Linked DNA regions of Homo sapiens: all the other regions are linked to region 1. The links are contacts of gene promoters, found by promoter capture Hi-C in blood cells and fetal thymus (Javierre and others, 2016). All regions are on one chromosome and are shown on one strand. The core of a region is centred on a gene start or on the middle of the fragment in contact, and the rest is flanking DNA. Distances in the headings are between cores, read along the strand shown. Region 1 holds the start of PLEKHG1 (pleckstrin homology and RhoGEF domain containing G1). Region 2 overlaps PLEKHG1 (pleckstrin homology and RhoGEF domain containing G1). Region 3 has its middle 110 kb from the start of PLEKHG1. Region 4 overlaps PLEKHG1 (pleckstrin homology and RhoGEF domain containing G1).

Region 1 (2,963 bases), core at 177-2,676:
AAACATACTGCACACTTCTAACACAAATCACAACATAGAGAGATGGGGTAACAGGCATGATTTTGTGTGAGCTCCAGAAGCTGGGCAGGGTCTTAATTAAGCTCAGTTTCCTGTCTGTGAAAGGCGACTAGCACCTGTCCTGTCAACCTCACAAGGTTATCGCAAGGCCAACTGAAACAATGCTTTGAAGATGGCAAATGTCTGTTTTAGTCCCATTGCAAATCTACCGTGGTAAATGTATTCCAAGCATAACCCAGTCCCATAGTTTTAGGTAATACAAGTCAGTTGTGGAGACTCAAATTATAAAACAGAACATAAACTCCACGTGGTAGAGAACTGTGATGCTGTGTAGCCTTACTGCACAAACCTTGTTTTGTTCCCAGTCTTTATGATAATTTCCATAATCATGTATATGCATAAAAGCAGATAAAAGGCAAAAATCAACAAGAATAGCTAACATTTATTCAGGCTGTAGAGCATGTGCCAGACAGTCTCCTAAGCCCTTCACGCACATTCTCTTATTTAAATCACATACAGCAACTCTATGAGGTAGGCACTATCATCATCATCATCATCATCATCTCCATTTTACAGATGAGGAAACAGACAGAACACAGAGAGGTTAAAGCGTTCTCTCAAGGCCACACAGCTAGCAAGTGGTAAGGCTGAAGGTCTGTTAACAACTAAGAGTGCAATCAAATCCACCACCAAACCTAAGGGGGTCCACAGGCGACCCTGATACGTCCGACTTTGGCGGGAGATTAGTGTTAAGAAATGACTTCACATGCCTTTAACTGTCGCTGCAGGCACCTTTGATTGGAGTCATAACTTTACTGCAGAGCCGGTGCCTTTAAACATCTCTCTGGCTGTCACCGGTTATTCTTTACCTCCGTTTCCACTTTTACTTTCTCTAGGCAAAGGTCGTTTGGTGCTTTAACCGAGGTGATTAGGGTAATGACGCCTGAAGAACACCGGGCTTCCCCCTCTTTTCACTTGATTACCGGCAAAGCTTCTATGTAAAACTAGAATGTTCACTAAAACCATGATTTTGGGTATTATTTTAAAGGACTCACATAGGAAATTATTACGTCCAAAGGAAAGCTAAACCTGAAGAGCTAGGAAAATGAAAAAAAGTGATGTGTCTGCGAAAACAGTAGCAGAATTAAAAAAAAAAAAAACTTTATTCCCCCCGAAGCTGTAATTTGACTGTTCTCTTTGGCAAGGCTCCAGAGACAAGGCCAAGTGCCTAATTTCTCTTTCTCTTCGCCCCCCTCCTCTCCACCTTTTTCACCCTCAGGGCAGAGGGGAGGCGGGACGAGCGATCCACTGCTCCGGCCGCCGAAGCTGGCGTCTGGGCGCGGGGAGGGGCGGGCCGGGGCGCGGCCGAGCAGTGGGGCCGAGCCCGAGGAAGAGGAAGTCGGAGCCCGAGCCTGAGCCCGAGCCCGAGCCCGACGGCGGCTGCAGGGCGCTCCGGCAGCCCGAGCCGGCGCAGCGCAGCCCGCACCCTCCCCGCCCGACCTGCGAGCGCCGCCCGGGCATGCGAAGCCGTCCCTCCCCGGGTAAGCGCCGGTCGGGCCCGGACGCCCTGGGGACTTTTCCAGGGATGGGAGGGGGGACCCGGGGACCTCCGGCGGGAGCCCCACATCCGCAGGTGGGGCCGGGCGGAGCGTGGTACCCGGGCCCCGCCGGCCCCCTGCGCGCCCCTCCGCAGTGGGGACGGAGGGCCTTGGGGGGCGCCGAGCGGTGGGGACAGAGGGCGCCGGGGGCACCGCGCGGTGGGGACGGAGGGCGCTGGGGGGCGCCGCGTCTCGGGGGTCGGAGTCGGGTCGGGGATGCTGCCCGCCGCCGCCCCGCTTGGGGTTCCGCGCCCCCAAGTTCCCGGTGCTCCCGCCCCTCGCCCCAGCGGCTGCAACATCAGCGCGCAGAGGAGTTTCTGCGAGCACCCGGGAGTTGTAGCCACCGCTTCCCCACCCCCGACTCAGCAGGACAGCCCCAGAACGGGACCCCACAGCCAGTCAGCTGGGTCAGCTCCCCAGCAGCGAAGCCGGGAGCCCGAGGACCCGGGGACGCGCGGTGGGGGCGGCGGCCGAGCTGCTGCGGCGCTCAGGGCTTGGGGGCGCCCCCGTTCTGCAGATGCGCTTTTCAGGGGGTGGGGAGTCAAGAGCCTGTGGCTCTTCCGTCACGGGGTAAACGGTAACACCTGGGCGGCCGCGACTCTGCGAGCGTTCTGGCCTCGGCGGGCGGCGGGGAACCGCAGTGATGCCCGAGCTCGCCCCTTTTGTGTCCTCGCGGTGAGCCCCGTTCCGAAGCCGGAAGCTTGGGAACGCTCTAACTGGGAGAACGGCGCTCGGCTGGTCAATTCATTCCGCTCCTCGGAAACAATGAGCTGGATCCTTGACTTGAATGTGCTGGCGGAGCGGGGTTTGTAAGCCGGCGTTTCATCCAGCTCTGGTCCTCAAGGCGCCCTTTGTACCACCCGCAGGTGGCCGAGGCTACTGCACGTATTTTCGAAATCACCGAGTGTGGGTGTTTGGGGCAGGTATCACCCCGCGAGGACCATCTCAGACTGAGAGTTGGTTTAGGAGTTTTGAACAGATTGGATACAGAACTATATTGTGTTTTGTATTTAGACCGGGGGAAAGACTAGAATGTTAACTCTAGGGTCCAGTTTGTCATCTAACAGAATTCCGGGCTTGGGTAGGTCCTGTAATGCGGTACAATAACAACCAGGTGTTAAAACCGGCATCTTCTGGATTCTCAGATTCTGTAGACAGCATACTTCTAAAAAATGTAGAGATTTTGGATTTTGATTAAATTGCTGTTAAAAACATTTCCAAGCCCATCATTTCAGGAGATCAGAAAATTTTCGAACTTTAATTTTGCCCTGTGGGACCCTGGGCAAGATACTTGCCTCTGGTCGTCTTGGCTGCCTCCCTTATAAAGCAGTGCACACGAACCAGATA
Region 2 (2,963 bases), core at 129-2,628, 100 kb after region 1:
ATCCCAGCTACTCAGGAGGCTGAGGCAGGAGAATCGCTTGAACCCCAGAGGCAGAGGTTGCAGAGAGCCAAGATCATGCCATTGCACTCCAGCCAGGGTGACAGAGCAAGACTCCGTCTCAAAAAAAAAAAGTTCTGATGTATGGATCACGTTATAAAGGGCATTGGGAACCTCTCACCATCAGCAGTACTTCTCATTTTGTTTTGGGGTGTGTGTGTGTGTGTGTGTGTGTGTGTGTGTGTACTTATATATATGTCATCCAGTACCCAAATTGTACCCTTCTAACAGTTATTTAAATCACCTAGTGTAATCCCTTAACATGTAGTTATATTTTATTTTGTCATAAATAAAAAACATAAGCAAAAGCTGTTGGGGAAATAATAACCCCGAAGATAACCACCAATAACAAACAGACTTTCTAAATCTATCTAGAACCTGGCAGTCTCCATAATGGGTCAACTTCCGACTTGTTCCTTGTTGCCTCAGGGCTGTTCTGAACCCTGAAGTTCCCCCACTCTGTAGCTGATGACCTGCTGCGTTCATTCCTTACGAGGAAGCAGCCACTTCCTCCCGTGGGCTAGCAGCCTCGCACTTCTGCATCTTTAGTGGCATAGCTGAGTGGTACCAATGCTTCTCATTTTATTCCTACAAAACAAAAAACCTCAGCAAGGCCTGTGTTTTCATCTCCATCATTCTCCCTTTATCTGCCTAGGCCTTTAGATGAAAAAATGGCCAAGGTACTTGGAGAGATACAAGCTGTCAGGGAGGCAGGGGAGTCAGACCCAGGTTTTAGCCTCATAATAAAGAAAATCATGAAATCCCTTCCCACTTCTCTCCTTCCTAACTCCTTCTTGTAAGTTTATCAAAATGAAAGCAGATGAGGATGTACAGATTGCCCATCAAGGGTTCTTAGATTCTGACTTGCTTAATACTTAAAATATAATTTTATTCAGTCCGTTAGAAAAGCTCTTGTCTGGCTGGGCATGGTGGCCTGTAATCCCAGCACTTTGGGAGACTGAGGCAGGCAGATCGCTTGAGCTCAGGAGTTAAAGACCAGCCTGGCCAACATGGTGAAACCCCATCTCTACTAAAAATACAAAAATTAGCCAGGCGTGGTGGCACATGCCTGTAATCCTAGCTACTCGTGAGGCTGAGGCAGGAGAATCGCTTGAATCCAGGAAGTGGAGGTTACAGTGAGCCAAGATTGCGCCACTGCACTCTTGCCTGGGCGACAGAGCAAGACTCCATCTTAAAAAAAAAAAAAACAAAACAACTTTTTTCTACTTGAAGAGCTACTTCCTACAGTATTAAAAAAAATCAGTCTAGAATATATTCTGCTTTTCTGTTAAATTGTACCTTAATTTGGAAGCATGGAACATTCTTGTGTCACAGCAGTGTCTCTCTACCCTGGCAATACATATGAATCACAGGAAAAAATACTCTGGTCTTGCCCTCCAGTGAATATGCTGTTTTAAAATAGTGTTTGATTGCTGTTTAGCACCTTGATTTTTGAAAACTTGCAGAATTTCATGTGGCATTTTTACATAGTTGAACGTACTTGGTGACTTTGAATTTGTTTATATATTATTATCCCTGACAATGGAACTAATTTTAAGTCTTTTCAGTTTGACATAGTAGAGCCTTTCACTCTGGTGAAGATCAGGACTTACAAAAAGATTCAAAGTGCAACAATTGCAAATAACAACTTTATCGGTGCTGAGTTTCGGAGTTGAAAGTATCCTCAATGGTTGATGGTCCGACTGACCTGTTAGCATGTTGAGAATGAATCTTAGTTGGTTCTTTGGAGTGAGGGGGGCGATGTTTGCTGGTGCTGTCCTCTGAGGGCAGGGAATAGTCAGCATAAACGCACTCTTCATTAACCTTGGGCTTCAGACATAAACCTTCCTCTGGTCTTCTTCCCATGGAGTTTGGCAGCATTTCACACAGGTCTCAAGGGCCCCTCTTGTCCCTTCTGAACAAGCCCCCTCTGAACTCAGAGACAAAAGGGGCTTTTCCTATAACACACCTCACCCTGGACCCCAGCATGATTCCTGCCTAGTTCTATTCACAATCCTTTATTTCTCCTTTGGAGAGTCTAATCCTTGAAGTCTGTCATCCTTGACCCCATCAAAGCGTTTTTCATTGGGATGATGGACTAGGGGAAGGCTGAGGCAGGTGGAGTAAGGGGCTGCAGGCAGCCTTGAGCTCTCCGTGGAGCACTGGTTCTCAACCTTACATCACCCAAAGAGTTCAGGTACCTTTGCCCATTCCTGGGCCCTGTCCCTGAAAATTCTGATGTTGTGCTCTTGGGCAGGGCCCAGCAATCTGGTTGCTTGTTGAAAATCTTGCTGATGATGATTGTTAGCCAGCTTGGACTGCCATAACAATAACACAGACTGGTGGCTTAAATGACAGACATTTATTTTCTCATAGTCCTGGTGGTTGTAAGTCCAAGATCAAGGTGCTAGTGGGGTTGGTGTCCAGTGAGGCCTTTCTTCCTGGCTTACAGACGGCTGCCTTCTGGCTGTATTCTCACATAGGCTTTTGCATAGAGAGAGAGCAAGATCTCTCGTATTTCCTTCTCTTCCTATAGGGACACCAGTCCTGTTGGACTAGAGCCCCACCCTTATGACCTCATTTAATTCCACCTCCTTAAAGGGCTCGTCTCCAAATACAGTCACTTTGGGGGTTAGGGCTTCAACATCAACATATGTATTTGGGCGGGGGGACAAAATTCAGTCCATAGCAGTAATTTAGGAGGTGTTAGGTAACACCTGGAGAAATAATGGTTTAGGGTGTGTACTAACAATCACCAGTTTTTTGGTTAACAATACCATTATGATAATTGATGTATTAAAATGTCTAAATAGATTAAAATCTCTAAGTGTCTGCAGAAGAATGAAATGTAAAGCATATTTCAAAGATATGCCATCGGAACACTCATTTTTATAAGCTGTAAATGG
Region 3 (2,963 bases), core at 229-2,728, 110 kb before region 1:
CTCCTTGTGGTTGCATGGCTTCCCACATTCTGTGCCTCTGGTGGCACAGGGTTCCAGCACCATCATTAGCTGCGAGGGTGATCCCTGCAAGTCCCCTGAGATTCGAAATTTACCTTCCTCCTCTGTGAAATGAGAAGACTGGACTGGCGCCCTTCTAAGGATGTCTGCTGGAGGTCAGGTCTCTGGCTCGGGACAGACACAGATGTGAGAGAATCGCACCACTCTTGCTGGACTGGCACACCAGGCCCACATAGTGACTCAGCCATGCAGCCCTCGGCCCCACAGGTTTCTTGGCTCACTTCCCTGACTCTCCTTTACTCCCTTTGTCTAATAACGTGTCTGAAAGTAAACCAGTTTCCTGGGGAACATTGTTTTCCCATTATAAATTCCTTTACAGCAAGCACCAAGTGACTGGCTGTGCACTGGTTAAAGCTTAAGGGTATTTCCTGAAGGCTATATTCGGCCTGAGCAGATTTTTGTGTTTTTAATTGTTATTTTCCTAAGAGAAAAGGTCAATGGCTATATTGTTTAGAAAATAGATTCAAACTGGATACATAAATTTCAGTGGGAACGAGAAGGGTCCCAGGAAAGAGGAGTCCCTGACCATGAGCTGGGCATGTTAGGTCCACCGATTCATAAGGTCTCAGACCAGTTGCAATAGATGGTGCTATGGAAAGGCTTCATTTGGGATCAGGTTGGAGAAGGTGTGTGTGTAGAGGGGAGAGGGAATCTCCTCAAGTAAGCTACATGAGAAGGTGCCTAATACGGTATGGTTCTGTGTCCCCACCCAAATCTCATCTTGTAGCTCCCATAATTCCCATGTGTTGTGGGAGGGACCCAGTAGAAGATGATTCAATCATCTTCTTTCCCCTACTGTTCCCATGACAGTGAATGGGTCTCACGAGATCTGATGGTTTTAAAAATGGGAGATCCCCTGCACAAGCTCTCTTTTCACCTGCCACCATCCATGTAAGATGTGACTTGCTCCTCCTTGCCTTCCACCATGATTGTGAGGCCTCCCCAACCATGTAGAACTGTAAGTCCAATAAACCACTTTCTTTTGTAAATTGCCCAGTCTTGGGTATGTCTCTATCAGAAGCATGAAAACAGACTAATACAGTGCCTCAGAACTCCACGTGGCTGATCTCTGAGCTACTGTAGCCTCTGCCTCTCCTCATACCTATGGCCTCCTGGGTGTTCCCTATAACCTGTTAGGTGAGAGGACAGATAATTTAAAATGGACTTGAGGAGCAAAATGCCACATATCAAGTCTTGTTTTTAAGAAATTGTTACCAGCTGATGAAAATACACATGGAGTATCCACAATGCCTTTGGAACTGAACTGCTGTACTTATTCTTCCAGATTATTTCAGACAGTGAGGATGTTCTTTCTGAAATGTTCTTGTCTATTTCCAATGAGTAAAAATAGAAGAGGGGAGAAAAAGCCAGGGCCTGAGCCAGCTTGTGGGCCTTTCTAGGTCACTATTTTATTGGTAATCATTTTTTCATAACTGTGTATTTATTCCCTATGGGTGTGTCCTGGATTCCATGGCAAATATCCTTTGATGACCACAGCAGTGTCTTCCGATGAAGGTCCAGGGCTGCATCCCAAACACCCCCACCGACAGCTCAGCCAACAGGACGGATCACGACTGAAACAGATGTTCTTGCTCCCCCGGCCAAAAAGTTGGAGTCCCTCCCTGGAGATGAGACACTTCCCTTTGACACCAGAAGCACCTTCCTGATTTCATCAGATGAGATACTTGTTTGGGGAATGACCCCAATGTCTTGCCTTAAGCAAACAAATAAAATGTTTGAATTTAGTGAGGGCATGAACCCGATATGTAAAATGTAGAGTTAGGAAAATTATATTGTATAGAAAATAGCACATTATTTCCCTGGTGAGCCAGCAACCTCCCAAAATAATTGTGTAAAACAGAGGATAAAAAGAGCTCAGCAAGAAACCCTTATGTCCTCGAGAAGGCAACCAAATTGGAGAATGAGGTTTAGTATACGGTATTTCTCAACAAGAACTGTAAAACTGAATTAAAACCTGAAAGCAATGATAAAACTCTTACTAAAATATGTAGTCCATGCATTTCTTCTGTGTGATTCTTCCGTGCGATTCTTTAGAACTGAACTGAACACCTTTGGAACTGAAAGACTCTACTTACTCTTCCAGGTTATTTCAGACAATGAGGATGTTCTTTCAAAATTAACGTGCTTCTCAAAACTTAACAGGCACATGAGTCGCCTGGAGATCTTGTTAAAATGTAGGTTCTAATTCAGCAGGTCCTAGGTAAGGCCCCAGATTCTGCATGTCTAATAGGCTCCAAGGTTTACACTATTCTTAAAGCAGTGCAGTCATTTCCAAGTGCAGTCATTGGATCACTTGTATGAGAATCTCCTAAGTGATCTGTTGAAAAACACAGATTCCTGTGCTCCACCACAGACTTACAAAATCCAGTGTTTACAGTGATTGCCCAGGAATCTGTATTTAACACGCTTACCAATGATTCTTATTAAAGCTTGAGAACTGACACTGTCTATGGATAAATGGCTAATTTGGGATAACTAGGAAACTTGTAGGAGATGCCATGAGATTGTTGCACACCATGAAGAAGGTTTGGGCTGTGCTAAGTGGGTTCTTGTACTTTTACAGTAAGGAAAACTGCTAAGCAGTTAAGTGGCTGGGGCATAAATAGCAGGCGCTACCAAGTCAGGCAGTCCAGGTGACAGGGAAGGAGCTTACAGGAGCATTAATGATGATAGGATACTGTACTAATTTCTGTTGCTAAAAGAAACTATAATTTTCAGTATTGAGCAGATGTTCCTTACTTTAAAAAATAGTTATGATTTTGGAAAGTTGCAGAAAATTAAGTTTTTATTCTCTTATCTTCTCATTGACTTCCATTATAATTTTGGAGCAGTTTTGTCATCATTTATGTGAATTCTACAATTGG
Region 4 (2,963 bases), core at 153-2,652, 68 kb after region 1:
ACCTACTCCTAAGTATCTCATGTTATTGATGAGAAAATTGCAGTCTGGAGAGAGCTGGCAATACCATCAAACGTGCACAGCAAGTTCATGTCAGAGACTGAGCTGGAATCAAGATATCTTGCCTTCTAGCTTCATACAGTTGCCATCATACCAGCTGCATTGATAATTTTTTTTTTTTTTTTGAGATGGAGTCTCACTCTGTCGCCCAGGCTGGAGTGCAGTGGCGCAATCTCGGCTCACTGCAATCTCCGCCTCCCGGGTTCACACCATTCTCCTGCCTCAGCCTCCCAAGTAGCTGGGACTACAGGTGCCCACCACCACACCCGGCTAATTTTTTTATATTTTAGTATATGGAGTTTCACCGCGTTAGCCAGGATGGTCTCGATCTCCTGACCTCGTGATCCACCCAACTCGGCCTCCCAAAGTGCTGGGATTACAGGCGTGAGCCACTGCGCCCAGCCTGATAAGATTTTTAAATTTTCTCCAAAAGGGGGTGTGTGTGTGTTTGTGTGTGTGTGTACAATGCTTAGGGATGCCAAGCTATTTAAATCATATAGCATGAAAACTGGGCCTGTCTAAACATATATTAGGGTTGGGTCTGCATCACCTTTAGTTAGCTAACTACTAATATTTCAAGTTTTTAGCATCCCTAAAATGTTTGCTCACCAGTCTTTTTAAATATTATATTGCTGCGGACATAATTTTTTTAAAAAGAGTTTCTACATATGATTTTGTGAATACTTAGCCTTTGACTAAGGATTGACTCTGAAAAGGCTGTTTCTATTATCTGTTCAGCCAAGTCTTGTGTTTTCAACATATATGTACTAAACAGCATTATGTTGTCTTAATATGACACTAAAATGGGGTTCAAGGCAGAACATACTTCTGTTTGTTACAATTTAGGATCATAAGGTATCTTGGAAAATAGTAGTCTGAAGTACAGAATCCAAGGACAGCCTCCTGTGGTTTATTACTTTTATTTATAGCAGTCTACTTTTTCCTATTTGCAACAGATTTGGCTAAACAATGTTTTATTAATTCAAGCAGGAATATTTTCCTGCATTGAATTTGCATTAAAATTGCCTAGGAAATAATATTACCCGGTTTTCCTCACACACCCTCTATGCTGCTAGAGAACTTTTAGAAAAGCTGAATTCAGAAGTCTGCAAATAAATGAAACTGTGAAAAGTAGAGGTGACTCTCCTTTAGAACTACAAGGGATAGTGAATCCATCAGCAGTCACAAGTAAAAATACTGTCTTCTTGTGGTAGAGTGCTACTTATTCCTTTAAAAGCTTTTCCAGCCCATCAGCAGGTATTAAAATGTTCAAGGCCTCTTGTCTTTTTGTAAGATGTGTGTATAAAAAAGAATTCAGAGCAGAAGGTTTGAAGATTATCTTGTATACAAGGGCGGCTAAAATACGTGCAATAGGTCTTTCCAGGAATATGAAAGTGAAGATTGATGCCGAAAGTCTCATTGCTGTTTTTCTAAACTGGTTGCTGTTGGCTGTGAAAGCTTTCTTTGAATTAGTGAAGGTTTCATGTGCCCACACATAGCCTGAAGTGAGAAACTCACTGTTGCTTGTGCTTGCCAAAAGCAGACATAAAGCATTGGCTGCCCTACCTGTAACTTCTGCTAAAAACAGAACACAAAATTATCATGGGAGCCTTCAACAGCTAGAACACCATCTAAACAAAGTAAAAAGTGATTGGATTCTTTATGGCTCCCTCAAAGATTTTTCAACTCCCTGTAGTCCAGTTCCAAAAAAAGGAATGATGGTTTTCTTGGAGAGCCAACAGTTCCCTTTGTAAGTTTCTGGAATTTTTGTACATGATATTTTGAGTTCTTCTACAATAAAATTTAATGGTCCATTTGAGAAAGTGTACTCATATTAAATGTAGTGTCTATTATTGGGTAGTCTGAGACAATTCCTGAGTGCTCAACTCTCCTTTGATCTGTCGAAACATAGTGGTTGCCATGGAGTCTTGCTGGCCGATGACCAAGTAGGAGTTCCACATTCCACTCAGCTGGGCGCAGTGTTCCTAATCAGGCCGGACCTGAAACTCTAGCACAAAGGACTTTAAAACCGGAATGCTTTATGTGTAATCACTGAAAATAAGTTGATTATTTGTAGGGCAGAGTATGGTAAAGGTTAAAAATTTCATGTTTCACTTATTTAAATTTTGATTTGTTTCTGGAAAAATATTTTAGTCTTCTGATGATATGAAATGTAAAATTCTCTCTAGTCCCCCTGCTTTGTACAAAGTAATACAAAACAAGATTTGTCTTATTTGACCTTAAATATAAATAAAATGGCAGCTGAATTATTGTGAGCAATGTAGCTCAAGTATCTGGCCGTCATCTTTGCATTTTATTGCAGTGATGACTCCATGCCATTGTTAATCTGGATTTATTTTTAAACAGTTTAACTAGGGCCTTTTTTTGCAGGCTTTTCTTTGTTTCTCCCCTACTTAGTTCTGAGGAAAGCCTAAAATAAGATCCCTGTAAACACTGATGTTCATTTTTTAACTCAAACATTTGCACAGCCCCACTGTGGGTTCAGGAAAGACAAAAGGAGGCTCCTGACTTAGATCTAGCCCTCAAATAGAGAGGGGAGAAAGCCTTGAAGACACATCACTGTAGATAGCTGGGATGTGTTTTTGCTGTACAGAATGAGTAGGAGTGAGGAGAAAAGATGACTTTTGCCTGGATAGATGGGGGGTTGAAGAGGCTTCTGAGATGGTTTTTGATTGCCTACCGAGGTCATTCTCTGACCTAGTTTGATGTCTAACTCCCTTATAATTGCATCAGCTTGAACCCATAAGGCTTCAGTCTGTGGGGAGAATTAACCCTTTAGCTAATGGATAAAATAACGCGACGTTCTTTGGGGTTAAATTTTTGCCTAAATTACTTTTAATACCTTACTCGATGTCAAAGTTACTGGAACTGTGTATTTAGTCCTT

What was found. Contacts are between HindIII fragments. The CHiCAGO score rates a contact against its expected background, and 5 or more counts as called.
Region 2: a fragment that was not itself captured here is called in contact with the fragment with the promoter of PLEKHG1 in region 1 in 3 of 17 cell types (total B cells, naive B cells and fetal thymus); the score reaches 16.4 in total B cells.
Region 3: a contact is called between a fragment that was not itself captured here and the fragment with the promoter of PLEKHG1 in region 1, in 1 of 17 cell types (endothelial precursors). The highest score is 9.4, in endothelial precursors.
Region 4: a contact is called between a fragment that was not itself captured here and the fragment with the promoter of PLEKHG1 in region 1, in 1 of 17 cell types (total B cells). The highest score is 5.1, in total B cells.

Annotation. Positions count from the first base shown.
Region 1 is chr6:150,598,459-150,601,421 of GRCh38, forward strand. It overlaps PLEKHG1 (pleckstrin homology and RhoGEF domain containing G1), which reads left to right and starts at 1,427. Exons shown (of 17, transcript NM_001029884.3): 1 at 1,427-1,559. RefSeq lists silencers at 915-974, 1,155-1,449, 1,245-1,724, 1,935-2,104. The HindIII fragment of the contact is 1,307 bases long and covers 1,008-2,314 here.
Region 2 is chr6:150,702,350-150,705,312 of GRCh38, forward strand. The region is part of intron 2 of PLEKHG1 (pleckstrin homology and RhoGEF domain containing G1); the gene reads left to right. Among named protein-coding and RNA genes, the nearest start is that of PLEKHG1, 100 kb to the left of the region's middle. The HindIII fragment of the contact is 3,822 bases long and covers 1-2,963 here.
Region 3 is chr6:150,492,860-150,495,822 of GRCh38, forward strand. No RefSeq gene overlaps it. Among named protein-coding and RNA genes, the nearest start is that of PLEKHG1, 110 kb to the right of the region's middle. The HindIII fragment of the contact is 2,096 bases long and covers 431-2,526 here.
Region 4 is chr6:150,666,597-150,669,559 of GRCh38, forward strand. The region is part of intron 2 of PLEKHG1 (pleckstrin homology and RhoGEF domain containing G1); the gene reads left to right. Among named protein-coding and RNA genes, the nearest start is that of PLEKHG1, 68 kb to the left of the region's middle. The HindIII fragment of the contact is 221 bases long and covers 1,293-1,513 here.